Linked DNA regions of Homo sapiens: region 1 is linked to region 2. Evidence: promoter capture Hi-C in 16 types of primary human blood cells and fetal thymus (Javierre and others, 2016). All regions are on one chromosome and are shown on one strand. The core of a region is centred on a gene start or on the middle of the fragment in contact, and the rest is flanking DNA. Distances in the headings are between cores, read along the strand shown.

Region 1 (5,348 bases), core at 671-3,170, 44 kb before region 2:
GGCTCACTGCAACCTCTGCCTCCTGGGTTCAAGCAATTCTCGTGCTTCAGCCTTCCGAGTTGCTGGGATTACAGGCCTGTGCCACCACACCTGTCTAATTTTTTTTATTTTTAGTAGAGATGGGGTTTCACTATGTTGGCCAGGCTATTCTCAAACTCCTGACCTCAAGTGATCCACCTGCCTCGGCCTCCGAAAGTGCTGGGATTACAGGCATGAGCCACTGCGCCCAGCGTTAAACATAATTTTATCTGCTGAGTCATAACTCCCAAGTGGTGTTCCTGTTCTTAATGCATTCTGGAGTACCTGTAGAGCCTTCTTTGATTTGGAGTTCAGTTTAAAGCTGGCAGCCTTAACAGTGACTCAGCAAAAAGATCAGAGAAGGATGCCAAAAGATAACATGTTGCCTCCAAAATCAAGAGGCTCACCAAGTTTGCCTTTTTCTTCATGGTAGGGAGTGTAGGAAGGGCAGCAGCAACTTGTTTTTCACTTTCTTGGAAATATCTTAACATGCCCTAGATTTCTGAATCCCCCAAAACTTCAGAGAGGACAGTTCCTTAAATTGTTGTGGGGCTTACTTATCTCCTCTTCTGCCATACATACGTCTTACGAAGGCATCTAGGGCACATGTTACTTGCTATTGAAGAGGTACAATCAGCATGATCCCATTAGCGTGCTGGAAAAATGTGATGTCCTATGGGATGGTGAGATAATTAGAACCTTGTATGACTCTCAGAGGAGCAGGAGCACCCCTAACATTTGTGATACCTAGGGCAAGAATAAAAATAGAGATTTATTTTCCCAGCTACTCGGGAGGCTGAGGCAGGAGAATGGCGTGAACCCGGGAGGCGGAGCTTGCAGTGAGCCGAGATAGCGCCATTGCAGTCCGGCCTGGGCGAAACGAAAGAGCCAGACTCCGTCTCAAAAAAAAAAAAGAAAAAAGAAAAAAAAATAGAGATTTATTTTCCTGAGTCTTTGTTTTTTTTTTTTGTTTTTGTTTTTTTTTCCTCTACACTATTGAAACTGTGCCCCAAAGAGTTAAAGAAACCAGTAACTAACAGAAATTCTTGAGTTTTCATAATGGCAGATAAGAAACAACTTGCTGAAACACTGAGACTCCCTCTGCTTAAAAGAAATGAACTGGCTGAAATCGGTTGTAACCTAGATAGATAAATGGAGTTTGCACAGAATGAGCTTGCTGAGATCGCAGCCTGAGTTTCCACCACAGGTTTCATACTAACTCCCCCGAATTCGCACAAAGACCCTTGCGGAGGCATGAAGAGGTAAGTGCACATGCCCAAGGACTTCCCATGCCTCCCCTTTCCTTCCGCTAATCACCGCTCTCAGAATCTGCCCCCTAAATCTTTTCTTTTTCTTTTCTTCCTTTGTTTCTTTTTTTTTTTTTTTTTTTGAGACGGAGTCTTACTCAATCGCCCAGGCTGGAGTGCCGTGGTGTGATCTCCGCCCATTGCAACCTCCACCTCCCGGGTTCAAGTGATTCTCCTGCCTCAGCCTCCTGAGTAGCTGGGATTACAGGCGCACGCCACCACGCCTGGCTAATTTTTGTATTTTTAGTAGAGGCAGGGTTTCACCATGTTGGCCAGGCTGGTCTCAAACTCCTAACCTTAGGTAATCCACCCGCCTCGGCCTCCCAAAGTGTTGGGATTACAGGCGTGAGCCACCACGCCCAGCCCCGTAAAGCATTTCTAACAAAATTACTGCCTGAAAGCCAGCATGGGAAGACACTTGACGTTTACTCCTGTCTCCTTGGGAATCCATTTTCTTTCCTTTGTGTGTTTGTTGCTATAACAAAGACTTTCAATATAAAGCTTTTCTTTTCTCAAAAATGCAGTGTCATATTATTGGCTTCTAGCATATCAGGTAGTGAGTCCCTTTTGCTGGATAACATTATCCTAAGGCATTATTAGCATCTTAATTTCCTTTGTTAAATTGTGGCTGTCATTGAATTGAGTCAGCTGACCAAAAGAACTATTAGAGATAATCATGTGAAAGCTTGAACACTGAATTCAGAATCTCTGGCAAACGAACCCACCTAAATTCAACTCAATCTAAAGGTTTTTTCTTTGTTTTCTGTTATAGCATACTCAGTTCTCAAACATATTCCTAAGGTTTCTGTGATGTAGTTAGCAAAATTATGCAATTCTTTCAGTATATATGCCTTCTAATATTGGGACTGGCTTTGTGCTTGTCCCCATTGAACATGCTAGGATATGAATCTAATTAGAGGTCTAGAGGCAATGAGAGTTGGCAAATGAAGGGCATGGAGAAAATTAGCAACCCTTTGCAATGTAACTGTCTCAGCTGAGGTCATTACAGACTATGCATGCAAAGAGGACAGTCTTATTAAAAAGGAAAATGAGTTTGCTTCTGCTGGGATAAAAAAGGGCTCAATTGGTTTGGGGATTCAAGATACAATCACATCTGAATTCACCTAGCTGTCCCCATTCCCATTCTAAGGATACTACTCTTTCTGGATCAATGCTCTAGCAATTTCATTAAAAAACATGCAGTGGTTGTGAATTCAACTTTGTAATTATTTATCAACCTGAAGAATCAGACTTTTTGTCTGATTTTTATCTATGTAGTCCTGTAGCCGTGGGATAAAAGAGATGTTTTTAAAGCAATCATTAAAATATTTGATTTTCATATCTTTCCTGACCCAAGAATTTTAAAACCCTAAGTTCGTTATTTTCTTTAATTGAATTCTCGATTGCAGTCAAAAGTAATCACCACATCCCCTGAACCTTTCTCTTCCCCACCATAATGCTTTGGTACACCAGCCACTTTGCTTACCAGAGAATTACCTTCAATAAGCAATTAATTCCAGACAAACACAAGTGATAACCTGAGTAAATGTTTTGCTGTTGCTTACCAGGGACTACCAATATCTTATTTTCTAGAGGATATGGGACTATCATTGCCTTTGATCTATCTAGGTCATATAATCTATCCTAAATTTCATTCTTCGGTGTTTGTTGCCTGCAAATTCTGGTACAAAATATATTTTTGGGGCTCAGGGCACATAACAAAAACAACTCTAATCAGTTTAAGCAGAAAAATATTTAACAGAGATAATTAGATTTTTATAGCATCATTGGAATGTGTGGATAAGTGGAACTCAGGAACTATTGAGTTCCAAGAACAACTTGCTACACCTGTGACCCAGGGTTAGTAGGCCACTTCTACTGTTGCTACCACCTCTCAATACCCACACAGTTGCTCCTAGATACAGGAACACTCAATCTGGCTGTTGCTCCTGGTGACACTGGAATGCTGAACCTTCCTTCCACAGCTACTTCTCAACCCTTTGCTTGTACAACCAAATGCAGCAGTATAGCAGATGCTATTGATGCCTGTCCTATATTCCCTTGGCCCACCTCAGAGTTTACCTGCAGTTCAATGAAAACTTTTTAGCAAGCTTACAGCAGCTTCTCTTGTGATATGGTTTGGCTGTGTCCCCACTCAAATCTCATCTTGAATTGTACTCCCATAATTCCCACGTGTTGTGGGAGGGACCTGGTGGGAGATAATTGAATCATGAGGGCAGTTTCCCTCCTACTGTTCTGGTCGTAGTGAATAAGTCTCATGAGATCTGATGGTTTTATCAGGGATTTCCACTTTTGCATCTCTCTCATTTTCTCTTGCCGCTGCCATGTAGGAAGTGCATTTCACCTACTGCCATGATTCTGAGGCCTCCCTAGCCATGTGGAACTGTAAGTCCAATTAAACCTCTTTTGCTCCCTAGTTTCAGGTATGTCTTTATCAACAGTGTGAAAATTGACTAATACATCATGTCAAGCACTTTTGTCTTTCTACTTCTCTTCCTGGGAGGGATTTCTCTGATGCCATAGGAGCTTGCTCTGCCCATTCACATTGCAATCTGGAATTTCCAGAAATTTAATGCCCTTAGGGTTAACACTCAATGAAAGATGGAAGGTGAGATCAGTCTACCACTAACTTTCTGGTTCTTTGATGGGACAATTCTACAGTATGTTCCACACAGTTCCTCATAGAGTTCCCTAGCAAGATTGAGGCCCATGTATTCACAATGGTAATCTGCTTATTAAAATAATAATTTTTAATTTATTGATGTTTCTCCCTTCTTTTTCTCAGTTTCCACACTTCCTCACTGGTGCTTCTCTAGATAACTTTTTAAATAAATTAATTGCACCTAAGTCCTTGTCTCTAGGTCTGCTTTTGGGAGAACTCAACAAAGATAGCAACTTAGAAAGCAAATTCTAAGGATGGGATTCTGAACTTGAATTACTTGCTGGTCACATGGCAGCAATCCAATTCTGGTAGAAAGTGGGGTTGTGATAATCCCTGTCATGCTGTAGCATCCCACTTACTAAGATTCTCACCTGTGGAGGATTGAAATGAGCAACAGGTATAACTACTGGCTTATGCAATAGCTTCTGCACATGACACAAATGGAAAAAATTGTAATTGAAAGGATTGTGAAGTTTGCTTCTTTTTTCTACTGACCATAAGCCCTGAATATATAGCATGATTAGCTCAAATTATCCACCTATCAATTTAGAGAACACTGTGAAAGCCAAAGGCTTTCCATGGAAAAATTTTAAAAGACATCTCTTTTCTACAGCTGGAGGGCTAGATGTACTGAAAATCAGGCTCAGTATTTGAATGTATTAGTGCCAGAGCTACAAAGCAGACTGAAAACACAACGATCTAAGTTTTCTTTGTTAAAGTTAGAATCCTGATAGGAAAGAAATATTCCACATACTCTGAGTCCTGGGATGAGGACATTTGGTTGGATGTACTTGAGATACTTATATTCTCAGATTCCCTTGAACTCTTTCTAGCCATGGATCCTCCTCCTTTCTAGGGAAATAAAGCCTTTCATTGCTTGGAGATAATGTAATGCCTTCATCTGATATTAATGCCTTACAAGATGAAACTTACCCTATTCAAGACCTGTCCCCACTGCTTTTATATCTATAACTAAGGTTAAATAATGACGTGAGCTGGAAAGTACAATTCCTGCTCATGAGAAAAATAAATCCTATTCATTAGAAAATAAAATTTAGGCCAGGCACAGTGGCTTATGCCTGTAATCCCATCACTTTGGGAAGCCGAGGCAGGCAGCTCACAAGGTCTGGAGATCGAGACCATCCTGGCCAACATGGTGAAACCCTGTCTCTACTAAAAATACAAAAAAATTAGCTGAGCATGGTGGCATGCACCTGCAGTCCCAGCTACTCAGGAGGCTGAGGCAGGAGAATTGCTTGAACCCGAGAGGTGGAGGTTGCAGTGAGCTCAGATCGTGCCACTGCACTCCAGCCTGGTGAGAGAGCGAGACTCCGTCAAAA
Region 2 (4,778 bases), core at 1,937-4,436:
AGAGCATTATAAGACTCTTCCTCCACAACAGGATTATCAACAAAAGCAGTTACAGAAAAAATTACTTAAGAAATTAATAATTTCCAATGTGACCACTTAAGTTTCATCATAAAGTAAATATTTGAAAAACTAATAAGGTTCTCCAGAACTGAAAATGGAGGGATAGCATCTTTGTTACCCTTTCTAAAGAACATTTTCAGAGAGAATAGTGGGATAAACGCACTACATTTTCGACCCAGATTCAGCAACGCTTTTTATTTTTATTTTATGCTTTGATGGTGTCTAGATTTAAGTTACATATATAATGACATTAGCTCTTAATACTTTAGTTTGCATATCCAAATAATTGAGAATATGGTCTTGCATAATACCATTATCACAGCAAAAATAGCAATAACTCCATTAATATAACATTTTGGCCAAATAAATGAAAAACCAGAAAACACAGATTACATTTCCACGTCATTATAGCCACTAATAAAGATTTTTAAAGAAACTGTGAGAAAAACAAGAGCTATAATCATGCATGCAACTACAGTACAACCAAGAATCCACAAAAGATTATGCAAAAAGTACCATCAGCTTGCCAAGAATAACCAAAAATTAGACATTTAAAATAAATTGTTTTATTGAATGTTAAGTCCAAAGCTATTTCGAAAGTTCTCGATTTCCCCCATATTCCTACCAGTGTCATGAACTTGAAAATTGGGGATAATCGGCTTCAGAAATTTGAACTCATTTGTCCCGGAACCTCCTGTCAGACACACCTCGTATTGGTAGCTCTGGGACAGGGTCCCGGTGCCGCTCACGTCCACCAGATGCCCTGGAAAGGGACCCTCGGGCACCGAGCAGCGACCCACCGAGGCCGCCCTGCTCCTCCTGCACAGCCGCACCGCCACGAACAGGAGCACCGAGAAGAGGAAGAGCGACGACACCGAGGCCAATGCCACCACCAGGTAGACGGTGAGGGAGTCGGCCTGGGCCTGGGCCGGGGCCGCCTCAGGGAGCGGCAGGTAGGGCTGGGAGAAGCCGTCCACCAGGAGCACGTGCAGCGTGGCGGTGGCCGAGCGAGGAGGCTCGCCATTGTCCTTGACCAGCACCACCAGCCTGTGCTTGGCCGCGTCGCGCTCGCTCAGCAGCCTGGCGGTGCGCACCTCGCCATTGTGCGCCCACACGCCGAACAGCCCGGGCTCCGTGGCCTTGAGCAGCTGGTACGACAGCCAGGCGTTCTGGCCCGAGTCGCCGTCCACCGCCACCACCTTGGTCACCAGGTAGCCCGGCTCGGCCGCCCGGGGCACCAGCTCGGTGCAGGGCGCGGAGCCGTTCTGCAGCGGGTACAGCACGAAGGGCGAGTTGTCGTTGGCGTCCAGCACCAGCACGCGCACCAGCGCCTCGCTGCTCAACGCCGGGGACCCGCGGTCTGTGGCGCCCACGCGAAACTCGAACTCCTGTAGGGCCTCGTAGTCCAGCGACCTGAGGGCAAACAGGTGGCCATTGTCCGCGTTGATGGAGACCAAGGAGGCGAGGGGCAGGTGCCGGTCCTGGGGCGGCAGCAGCGAGTAGTTGACCTGGGCGTTGGTGCCTGAGTCTCTGTCTGTGGCGCTGACGCTGCCGATGTGCAGGGCGGGGCTGTTGTTCTCGCGGACGAACAGGGTGTAGGAGGTTTGGGTGAAGGTGGGGGCGTTGTCATTGACGTCAGAGAGCAGCACGGTTATGTTGTACTCGGTTTTCAGCCTGGGTGTCCCCAAGTCTGTGACGGTGATCGTGATGTTGTACTCGGCTTGGCTCTCTCTGTCCAGTGCTTTTTCAGAAACTAGAGTGAAAAAGTTCTTGAAGGTCGGTTTCAGGAAAAAAGGGAGGTTATCTTGAATAGAGCAAATCATCCTCCCATTGTCTCCAGAGTCTTGGTCTAGGATACTAAAAAGAGCTACTAGGGTCTCTGAGGCATTCTCTGGAATTCTCTTTGTAATCGACGATATGGTCACTTCTGGTGGGTTGTCGTTTATATCCATAACTTTAACTAGAAGGGTGCATTTTCCTGAAAGACCCCCACCATCTGTTGCCTGAATATTTATAGTGTAGGACTGTATTACTTCAAAATCCAGGGGTGATCTCAAATTAACTTCCCCAGATATTGGATTAATTTCAAATGTTTTACGAATATCTTCTGATGCATGGAAAAATGTGTAAGATATTTTTCCATAGTTTCCTGCATCCAGATCCTTAGCTGAGATGGTGGCAATCCAGGAGCCAAGGGGTCTGTCCTCGGGGACTTGCACCTCATAGAGACTCTGAGGAAACTCAGGGGCATTATCATTGATGTCCAACACCTTGATGAGAACCAAAGTTGTCCCAGACTTGGGCGGGGATCCACCATCCACTGCTGTGAGTGTTAATCTGAGTTCAGCTTCCTGTTCATAATCTAAAGCTCTATCTAGGACCAGCTCTGGGTATATCTTTCTGTCACTACTGTCGGGAATTTTAATGTAGAAGTGAGAATTGGGGCTAATTGTGTAGTTTTGGAGACTGTTGCTTCCGACATCCAAATCTTGAGCACTCTCCATTAGAAAGGTAGCTCCAACAGTGGTACCTTCTGATATTTTAATAAGTATTTCCTTGTCTAGAAATGTAGGGGAGTGATCATTTATGTCTTTGACACACAGCTCAAACCGAAAAAACTGTAAAGGGTTTTCCAAAACCACCTGAAAATGCAGCACACAGGGCTCGGTGGAGCCACACAGCTCGTCTCGGTCTAGTTTCTCATTTAGGAGCAAATTCCCAGTCAGCAAATCAAGGTGCAAATACTTTTTATTATCATCAGACACTACCCGGGCTTCACGTGAAGACAGCTCCTCCACCCCCAGCCCTAGGTCCCTCGCTAGATTAGCCACAAAAGAGCCAATTTCTGTTTCCTCTGCCACAGAATAGTGTGCAGATTCAGTACCTGCCCGAGACAATCCCAGCAAAACAAGGAATATTAGAACTTGCCTTTTTCGCAGATCGAGTGCCCCTCTGATCTCCATGGTTCCTTTAGGCAATCTCTTGTGGAAAAACTGAAGCTCAGCCGTAATTTTGGAAGCTGAAGCTCTGGTTTTTAACAGGAACCCCCTGGAGAGTGTATCCTCCAGCAGCTCTGTAGGCGAAGCTCCTTTAATGCCTGTCTTTTCAGTGGGTTGGATGCTTTCTGTTCTCCTGAATAGCGAAGCTCACCGTGCCAGCCTATGTACTGTTTTCGTCTTATCCTGTAGCGCCACCATGTGTCTCCATGTTTTTTTTTTCATTAAAAAAGTTTTCCTCTTTGAAAAAGTAATTCATAAATACATCCGGAACATTCGAAACAAATCCCAGACATCATTTTTTTTCCTTTAAATACTTCACTAAGTATTTTTAATAGGTAAGGCCTTCTAAAAGATAATTGTAATAAAACGTTCACAATCAACAACTTGAGCAATAATTCCTTGGTGTAATTTATACTGCATTTGGTTTTCCCCAGTTCTCTCCAAAATGTCCTTTGCTGTTGGTTTGTTTGAATTTGAATCCAGAAAAGTCCATACACTGCATTATCACTGTTTTGAATGCTCGGCACTAAAGGATCTGTTAAAATATTCTGAACTGAAGAAATAATTTTTTATTTAAGTCATTTCTCGAGTAATTACAAATATATTATCTCCTTCACTCTTGTAAATACTTGTTGTCAGCTATAGTTGGTAATATCATTACTTTTTTCACTTTTATATTTTAAAAATATAAAGAAGGACATGGCACAAATAAGTTAGAGATAATTCTTGCTCTTACAGAGCTCACAAGCTAGAAAAATTGGCAGACAAGTAAACGAAGTATGTCATAATGTATGCATTTATAAAAAGTAATATAGAAATACCTAGAAAAGACTTCTTGTACCTAGGAGGCTGCATACCTTAGTGCTTGGGAATATGGGATCTGGAACCAAATTATCAATATTAGAATCCTGGTTATGTGACTTACTATCTATAAGCTTGGGCAAGTTATAGATACCTTTGTTTCCTCACCTGTAAAATGGGGTAATAATATTTGTCTCCTATGATTATTATCGTAGGCATCTAATGAATTAATATTTACAAAGTGGTTTGTAAGTGCTGGTTAAGTGTCTGTCAAAAATAAAATAATTAAGATCAAAGTCGGACTTGGGACATCAGTGAAAGCTTTCCTGAGGTAATGAAAAATACATTGTGATCTGAAGGAACTAGCCAGGAGAAGGAGGAATATTTCAGATGGGCATTTTGAGGAACACAGAGAAATGAAGTATGCCTTGGACTTTAAAAACTATGGAAGGGGAGGGTCTAACAATGAAATTAGGGTTAAAAGCATGGTGAGAACATGAATCATTATACAGGTCATATCATGCATTCTTGAATTTATCCTAAAGGTAATTCAAGTACAAAGATGGGTTTTAAATATCTGATTAACATGATTACATCTGCATTTTAAAAAATCAGTTTGGCTGCAGTATGGAGAATTAATTTCAGGGGGAGTGACTGGAGAATCAAGGAGATCAGATAAGAGATGATGATCTGGATGAGGATAATGCCAGTGTGGATGGAGAGAAGAGGGATGAATAGAAAGGTATGAGGAGATGAAATGTTTTCAACTGTTGGTTGATAGGTTGCATGGGGAGAAAAATGGGAAAGACTCAGAGATGATATCACACCTCTGGACTGGGCATCTGGATGACTAGTGGTGTCATTCACTAGGACAGGGAATGCTAAAAAAAAACATGATTGGGGTGGAAAAAGATGAAG

The links. The method cuts DNA at HindIII sites, captures the fragments that hold promoters and counts their contacts. A CHiCAGO score of 5 or more calls a contact.
Region 1: a contact is called between a fragment that was not itself captured here and the fragment with the promoter of PCDHB14 in region 2, in 3 of 17 cell types (M1 macrophages, M0 macrophages and M2 macrophages). The highest score is 8.2, in M1 macrophages.

What each region holds. Positions count from the first base shown.
Region 1 is chr5:141,264,401-141,269,748 of GRCh38, reverse strand. LOC105378199 (a long non-coding RNA gene) reads left to right here and starts at 991. Exons shown (of 2, transcript XR_001742473.1): 1 at 991-1,280. The HindIII fragment of the contact is 184 bases long and covers 1,829-2,012 here.
Region 2 is chr5:141,221,751-141,226,528 of GRCh38, reverse strand. It overlaps PCDHB14 (protocadherin beta 14), which reads right to left and starts at 3,186. Exons shown (of 1, transcript NM_018934.4): 1 at 1-3,186. The coding sequence starts at 3,023. The coding sequence ends at 627. It also overlaps PCDHB@. The HindIII fragment of the contact is 16,360 bases long and covers 1-3,996 here.